Regions from separate parts of the Homo sapiens genome. Here region 2 is linked to region 1. The links are contacts of gene promoters, found by promoter capture Hi-C in human tissues and cell types (Jung and others, 2019). All regions are on one chromosome and are shown on one strand. The core of a region is centred on a gene start or on the middle of the fragment in contact, and the rest is flanking DNA. Distances in the headings are between cores, read along the strand shown.

Evidence for each region. Contacts are between HindIII fragments. The study calls those that stand out against the background at their distance.
Region 2: a fragment that was not itself captured here is called in contact with the fragment with the promoter of POT1 in region 1 in 1 of the 25 tissues and cell types used here (hippocampus).

The regions. Positions count from the first base shown.
Region 1 is chr7:124,927,770-124,931,837 of GRCh38, reverse strand. It overlaps POT1 (protection of telomeres 1), which reads left to right and starts at 2,013. Exons shown (of 19, transcript NM_015450.3): 1 at 2,013-2,044; 2 at 2,839-3,023. It overlaps POT1-AS1 (POT1 antisense RNA 1), which reads right to left and starts at 1,965. Exons shown (of 8, transcript NR_125719.1): 1 at 1,822-1,965. RefSeq lists enhancers at 1,729-2,023, 1,778-2,077. The HindIII fragment of the contact is 5,005 bases long and covers 1,140-4,068 here.
Region 2 is chr7:124,968,516-124,972,583 of GRCh38, reverse strand. All of the region lies in intron 2 of POT1-AS1 (POT1 antisense RNA 1), which reads right to left. Among named protein-coding and RNA genes, the nearest start is that of POT1-AS1, 41 kb to the right of the region's middle. The HindIII fragment of the contact is 4,786 bases long and covers 1-4,068 here.

The DNA of each region.
Region 1 (4,068 bases), core at 764-3,263:
ACAGAACATGGATACTTACAGGCTAAACAGATTATGAGAAATTTTAAAAGATTCAGTTGGTAGAAGGTAAGAGGAAAACTAGGACCATGTTGTAGCACAAAGAATGTTTTCAAAAATATGAGACTAAAAATGTCCTTTTGGGTTAGCAATAAAGAGTTCTTCAGTGGTTTTTCTAAGGGCAGTTTAAGTGTAATGGGGTGGTGGGGGGCAGGGGTGGGATGGAGGGGTGGAAGTCAGAAGTAAGATAAACAGTTTTCCTCAGCATTTGTTCATTCAACAAATATTTAGTACCCACAGAGGAGTGTGAGACTGACTGGGCAACATAGTGAGAACTCGTCTCCACAAAATTTTTTTAAAAAATTAGCCGGGTGTGGTGGCCTGTGCCTGTAGTCCCAGCTACTTAGAAGGCTGAGGCCAGAGGATAGCTTGAGCCCAGGAGTTCCAGGCTGCAGCGAGCTATGATCTCGCCACTGCACTTCAGCCTGGGCGACAGAGCAAGAGCCTGGGAGAATGTGTTTAAATGGTGACGGGAAAGAATGAATAAAAGAAGGAAAGCTTAAAATACATTAAGAGAAAATATATTGATGATGATGGAAGGGAGATGAAATTGGTCAGGGTCCAAAGCCCATGTGGAGGGCTTCACATAAAAAGGAGGAATAGTATTTCTCAGCCGGATGCAGCCAGAGATGGAAGGAGGATAGCATCTAAACCTTCCCTATAGTTTTCCTCAAATGGACAGCTCCTGAGTTCATGCACTTGTCACCCCGGCTTCTGCGTGGGATATAACTACAGGGATGGGGAGGGGAAACAGGAGATGGGCTAATACTGAATGCTTCCTGTTGATTAAAAAGGCACTTCAAACATAGCTGGCTGGGCACAGTGGCTCATGTCTGTAATCCCAGCACTTTGGGAGGCCAAGGTGGGCGGATCACAAGGTCAGGAGTTCGAGACCAGCCTGGCCAAAATGGGAAACCCCGTCTCTACTAAACAAATACAAAAATTAGCCAGGCATGGTGGCCTGCGCCTGTAATCCCAGCTACTAGGGAGGCTGAGGCAGAAGAATTGCTTGAACCCGGGAGGTGGGGGTTGCAGTTAGCCGAGATTGCGCCATTGCACTCCAGCCTGGTGACAGAGCGAGATTCCGTCTCAAAAAAAAAAAAAAAGTTAGCTATATCCTCCTGCAAATATGTATATAAAGAAGATATTTTAGTTCAAATTAGCCTTGGAAATATTCATGTAATTCTTTATTACATTTAGTTTCACACTAGGATGATTTCACTTAAATGATTGAAGGCATATATCTGGAATTAGCAGAGAATTCATGTTTAACAATTTATCATTATAAATGATAAATTATAATATTTATCAATTATAAGTTATAATAAATATTAAATAAACTATAATAAACCTATAAAATAAATTATAATAAATATTAATTATACCACAAAATCATGGCCCTATAAAACAATGACAAGGTTAATCAAATCTGTCTGTAAATAGCAAGACTCAATGGTGGCATTATGCCAATGCCCGAAATTACTATAAAAACTCCCAAATAACATTGTTATCCTTGTAAATGCTTCCTTGTAAAGACTGCAGTAGGTGCCTATTTCTTGGAGGAAGAGAACTGGACATTAAAAGAAAGGCTCTGCCTACAGGAGCTTCGAATCTACCAAAGGGAAGCTCAAATCCCGCCCAGCGGACCCGCCCGCTTCCCCTAAGCTTGCCTCCCGCCACGAAAGCTGGAAAGTCACTGGGGGCGGAGCTAAGGGGAGCTGCGAGAATTCCGGGGGATGTGACCGGACTGGGCGGGGCCTGTACCTTGGCCCTGCGCTCCCGTTGACGTCGCATCCTGTCAGTATTTCGCCAAACCTCCAGGCGCCATCAGTGTGTGAACCGTTACGCAGCTGGTCCACCGCGGGCGGAGAACAAGCGACTATGCCCAGGGATCCTGCACGCATGCGTGGAGCTGAACCGTCAGCGTGCGTGTGACGTCACCTGCGCGCCCGCCTAAACTCTTCCTAGGGTTCTTTCTAGAGTACGGGTGAGTGAAATTTGTAAGGTTTGGTGTGTTCATTTGAGTGGGTGCCAGACGTAACGGGCCCGGGATTGAATTAGTTTAGATCAAAATTTGATGTAATTATCGCAGAGAAACGCTTTCTTACGAGTGTTTATCTCGAGCCTGCTGTGTTCAGCATCTTTCTTGGTGTTTTGGGAGAAGCAGACAGGAGTTAAGTCCAAGTCCCCGCCCTCACAGAGCTCAGGTGGCTTGGGGGAAGGTTGGTGCGCAAACATTAAAATTAGATATCGACACTAGTGAGTGTCCCCGTCAAGAGGTCTGTGAAATAAGGTTGAGCCTACGATGCAGAAGTTAATCTCAGTTCAGTAATTTTTGTTTCTTCATTTATTTAGCGGGTGAAGGGAGGGGGCCACAGAAACATGTTGGAGTACGATGCTTTTGGTGCACAGTTTGTCTATACAATATTACAGCTCCCGTGGGGGTTAAAAAAAAACACGATTTTTCAGCCTCCCTCTTCCCCAATAAATTTTACATTTTAAAGCACAATGTTAAAAGCGTTTGTTAGTGACGTTACAGATCTTAAAACTGGCTTTTTGGAGGTACTTTACGCAGCTAAGTAGAAAATGGTTAAGTTTCAGTTCCTTGGAAGAATGTTTTGTATTGATCTTTGCAATAAAATTGTAAAATAATCCATCCTCCTGTCACCCCCCAACCCCGAACCGTGTTAACTATAATAAGGAAAAGCATAACTAAGTCAAAGAGACTTAAAGCAAATTATTGACTTCATTTTGGGTAAAACACTGGTTTTGTATTTTCAGCAGCAAGTTGTCAGATTCCCTAGTTGAATTTGCTTTGGACATCAGTGTGAAGCAGAACTGATATGCCACTTGAATTAATAAAGGAAGTCAATGGGGTGCCTGAAGTTCAGCCGCTGAGTAAATTACATAAAGTAGATTTCGGATCCCTACAGCCAGGTTACAATTATAGCAAGAAATATATTCAGGTAAGAATTTCTATAACTCAGAATGCTTTTTCCTACTAAAAGGAATGCAGTTTTTAAGTGTTGAGTTTATTTATGAGAACTGGTTTAGGTATGGTTTTTATCTTTGTCATAACATTTGAGATTGAATATTTCAATAAGTTATTCTTATTCAGTACTTATTTAGCGAACAATTATCAAATTCGTGTGTGAAACATTGGAGTAAGTTTCTGAGGTACAAAGATGAATAAATATAGTCCCGGAACTAAAGATAATCACATTTCTGTGGGGTCTGACAGATCAATCACCTGATCTCCAATTAAAATTAATAGGTGTGATATTAGCATTGTGATGTGTGAACATGAGAGAGCTTTTGGTTCTGACAGATCACGAAAGTTGAGCTGGAACTTACGGGATAACAGACTGTGCTGTACCTTCCTTTGAGGTAAAAAGCAGTCCTTATGTGCATGTTGAGGAATTTGGATATTACTCTAAAAGCTATGGGAAGTCTTTAGTAGGTTTTAGCAGGAGAAAGACATGATTTACTTTGAGTTCAAAAAACTTTGCTCCTAGGTAGAGAATATATTGGCGAATGCAAGATTAGAGGAAAGATGTTTAGTTAAGAGGCAATTACAGTAATTTAGGTGAGAGTTGATGATGATCTGGGCCAGTGGCAGAGGGGATGATGGGAAGGATATTGAAAAAAGATAGTAATAATAATAACTAAAGTTAACATTCATTGCATTTTTTTCCATGCGTTAGGTAGTTTTTACGTATATTATTTAATCATCACAAAGACCTATGACATAGGTACTGTTATTAAAGACACTGTGTTTCAGAAAGGTTAAGCAATTTGCCTGAGATCATATTGATGATATGAAGTAGAGCAGGAATTTGAATATAGATGATTTCCTTTAGACCTGACAGGATAAAGAAGCAGAATCAGTAGGTCTTAGAGAACAATTAGACTAGAGTGGCAAAGAGAAATTCAGGAAACTTCTGTTTCTAATTCCTAGCCAACAAGGAGAAGAAAATAGGGGGTACATACTTAGGGAGAAACATGATAAGT
Region 2 (4,068 bases), core at 695-3,194, 41 kb before region 1:
TAGTCTGCCAGCCTACTCTACATATTTCGGGCTTGCCAAGTCTCCACAATTACATGAGCCAATTCCTTAAAATAAATCTCTCCCTCTTTCTCTCTCACTGTGTGTGTGTGTGTGTGTGAGAGAGAGAGAGAGAGAGAGACAGAGAGAGGCAGACTGGTATCCGTCATTCCACATATACACATACATACACGCATCTTGTTTGGTCTGTTTCTCTGGAGAACTCTGACTAATACAGTACCATTGTCCAAAATAATTTGACTTTAGTTATAAGGGTTTAATTCTGGACTTTCAATTCCATTCCACTTACCTATATGTCTATCTTTATGACTCCAGTACCAATTTTAATGCTTCCATTTCATGATTCACTTATCTTATACAAGATTCACATATATACAAGATTCACATATATAAACAAGTTTGGATCAGACTTCAAACCTATGTATGGCACACTCTTCATTTTGAACTCTCATGCGATATTTCTATTTCTACCAAGAACTGAGCAGAGATATGACAACTCGACTCATATTAGGTCATTGTAATTTTTTTTTTTATCATCACCAAAGGTGGAAAGTCAGAAGATGCTAACTTTGTGTAGCTGCCTTAGTTCCAACTTTGTGTTTAATTTCTCCTGAAGTCTCATCTTTTGTCTCTGCATGGACATTATGGCTCAAATTCTTGGGCATTATAGTTTGTTTCTGAATTTGATAATCACCTCCTAGATAAGCAATATCAACTTGTGCTCTTAAATGCTCCTTCTTCATTTTTGACACTACACACACACACACACACACACACACACCTCACTTTTAGTTACAATTTATTCATCATTTCTAAGTATGAGAGTAAAGATTTTGGCCATAATCTTCGTTAGAAACAGAATTTAAATACATTTGTTTGTTTTTGTTTGACAATTTCAAAAGTCTGTATTAAAATTCAATTTTAAAAGTTCAATATTAAATATATATAGTCAAGAAAATAGGATATGAGTACTCAAATTTTATTGATATGAATACTCTAAATTTCTTATATATTGAATGTATAAACCTATTCCACGATTAAATGACGTAGTCTTTTTTTGGCGGGGGAGAGGGAAGGGTCTCACTCTGTTGTCTGGGCTGGAGTGCAGTGGAGTGATCTCGACTCACTGCCACCTCTGCCTCCCCGGGCCCAAGCGATCCTCCAAGTAGCTGGAACTACAAGCGTGTGCGACCACTCCCAGCTAATTTTCGTATTTTTTGTAGAGATAGGGTTTTGCTATTTTACCCAGGCTGGTCTCGAACTACTGAGCTCAAGAGATCCACCCGCCTCTGCCTCCCAAAGTGCTGGGATTACAGGCACGAGCAACCGCACGAGGCCTAAATGACGTAGTCTTAACACGGATTTTAGTGATTAAAATAAGTCACTGACCACTTAATAAATTAAACTATTGTATTTAATTTTATTGTTCAGCTACACATTGGATTATATATATGTATTGTTAACCTTAGGAGTTACTTAAAACTTACTATTTCTTTTTCCATAAAAGAAAATATATTCTGAATTCTAAATAACTATTGCCAACAGTATTTTGAAATTTTTAAAAAACTCATGTCTGTTATTCTATATTATATTTAGGGCTCTACCTACTTGAAGACAAAGCCATTTAGACAAACATAAAGGCAGGTTATATTGTAATAAGGGAAGCATGCAATTTCTAAACTTTTTATCTTCCTTACTGCAACAAAAAATTCATAGACATTTTTCAAGTCTCAAAACAAAAGTTCCAGAGAAAGTATTAACAAGTTTATTTCCAAAATAATCAGCTATAAACTCCTCAACTTCAGTTATTAATGCATAGAAATGACACAACAAACCACAGTAATCTTAAGAAACTTTAATTCTTGAGGTGGACCATCCACTCCCCATTTCCTAATGAAATGGCAGTAAAATAAACATTTATTTCCCATACTTCCACTTTAAAAGTAAATGGTTTTTTTGAAATATTTCTTTGAAAATATTTGTTGTTAAAATACTAATTAAGAAAACTAAATTTAGTGTTCTTGTCAAAATGTCATTTTGCTTTTGGCAAGCTTTTCCTATGTTGTATGCTGTTCAATACATTTTGAGAAGCAATAAATTAGTATTTTAACAACAAATCTTTTCAAAGAAATACTTCAACATAACATTTACTATGAATTAGGGGCTTTCTTACAATATGTTAATGATTTCACATTGCCCAAAACTATCTTCCAGCCATATAGCTTTGATTATCTTCACTTTATCTGTTTCTAGAGCTAGCAAGTTGAGTATCCATAATGAATGTCTATGGTGTTTGTTCAGGGAAGAAGACAGGCAAAAATAAAGATACACAATGTGCTTAGCATGTATGAATTTTGTAAATATGATTTACTCTATCAATTAAAACAATTGGTAAGCCATACACCTCATAATTGTAGGTACCATGTTGTATATAACCCTATTTTTCTTAGTTTTGACAGGAAAGTTTCCCAAGAGTGGACAGCTATCACTACAGGAATATAAAACTTTTAGAAATTTTATACAACATGTTGAAATTATTCTACACATTTTTGAACTTGTATTTTGGGTGAAAATTGATTTAATTTTAACATACTTCTAACTTATTAAAACATATATTTGGTTTTGAACAATTCAATAGGTTTGATGTTGTAGATTGAAGCTTTAAACAGGTACCTTCTCAACAAGATTAACAGCTAATATGGCCTCCCTCAGATGTGTGAGTTTGTTTCATAAAGAATTATTTATCCAGTTTCATTTCCCAGTTGATACGAATCTCATTTTTCATAATTTAATATTTTAACATTTTTATATGTGATGTTAAAATTATTATGTTGATTAACTTTCAAAGAACTTTTTTCTGTAGAAATAATCTATTCAGCCTTCTTTTTTTTTTGAGACGGAATCTCACTCTGTTGCCCAGGCTGGAGTGCAGTGGCGCAATCTTGGCTCACTGCAAGCTCTGCCTCCTGGGTTCGCACCATTCTCCCGCCTCAGCCTCCTGAGTAGCTGGGACTACAGGTGCCCGCCACCACGCCCGGCTAATTTTTTGTATTTTTAGTAGAGACTGGGTTTCACCGCGTTAGCCAGGATGGTCTCCCTCTCCTAACCTTGTGATCTGTCTGCCTCGGCCTTCCATTCAATTTTATATCTAGGTGAAAGTATGAGATTTTTATTTTTAGCATATCTGTTTCAGTAGCCATTCACTTTTGTATCATCGATTATTTAAGAATTGCCTTTCAATTGTTTGATGTCAAATAACGATGGCGCCCGAAAATAAATGTAAGGGCTTCTTACTAAAGATATATAAGATCCAATCATTTCTCAATTAGTCACTGATAAATAAAAAATGGCATTCTCCCCAAAATGACAGGTAAAACCCAAATCTCGTGTATTTATATCAAACCTTTTCTGTAAGATAAAGGGGAAAGATATGAATGTCTCTGTTTTTTTATATTCAAGAGATGAAAAGTCACAGTGAAAAGTCAAATTTCTAGCCCAGTCCAGTAGAGATTTTGAAAATGATGACTTCATTTCTGGGCATCAAGAATTAGAAATTAGTCCTAAAATAATACTTAAATATTTAAAAATAAATTATCAGGACTGCAAGAACAATGTCAAGTACAAATGCAAGATATAAGTTTTGTCACTTATTATATTTAAATTTGCTTTTTTAAGAGGAATAAAACCATCTCTTTTTTTTATCATTTCAACTTTTATTTTTCTTTCTTTTTTTCTTTTTTTTTTTTTTTTTTTGAGACGGAGTCTTGCTCTGTTGCCCAGGCTGGAGTGCAGTGGTGCAATCTCAGCTCACTGCAAGCTCCATCTCCCGGGTTCACGCAATTCTCCAGCCTCAGCCTCCCGAGTAGCTGGGACTACAGGTGCCCGCCACCATGCCTGGCTAATTTTTTGTATTTTTTTTAGTAGAGACGGGGTTTCACAGTGTTGGCCAGGATGGTCTCGATCTCCTGACCTCGTGATCCACCTGCCTTGGCCTCCCAAAGTCCTGGGATTACAGGCTCAACTTTTATTTTAGACTCGGGGTACACATGG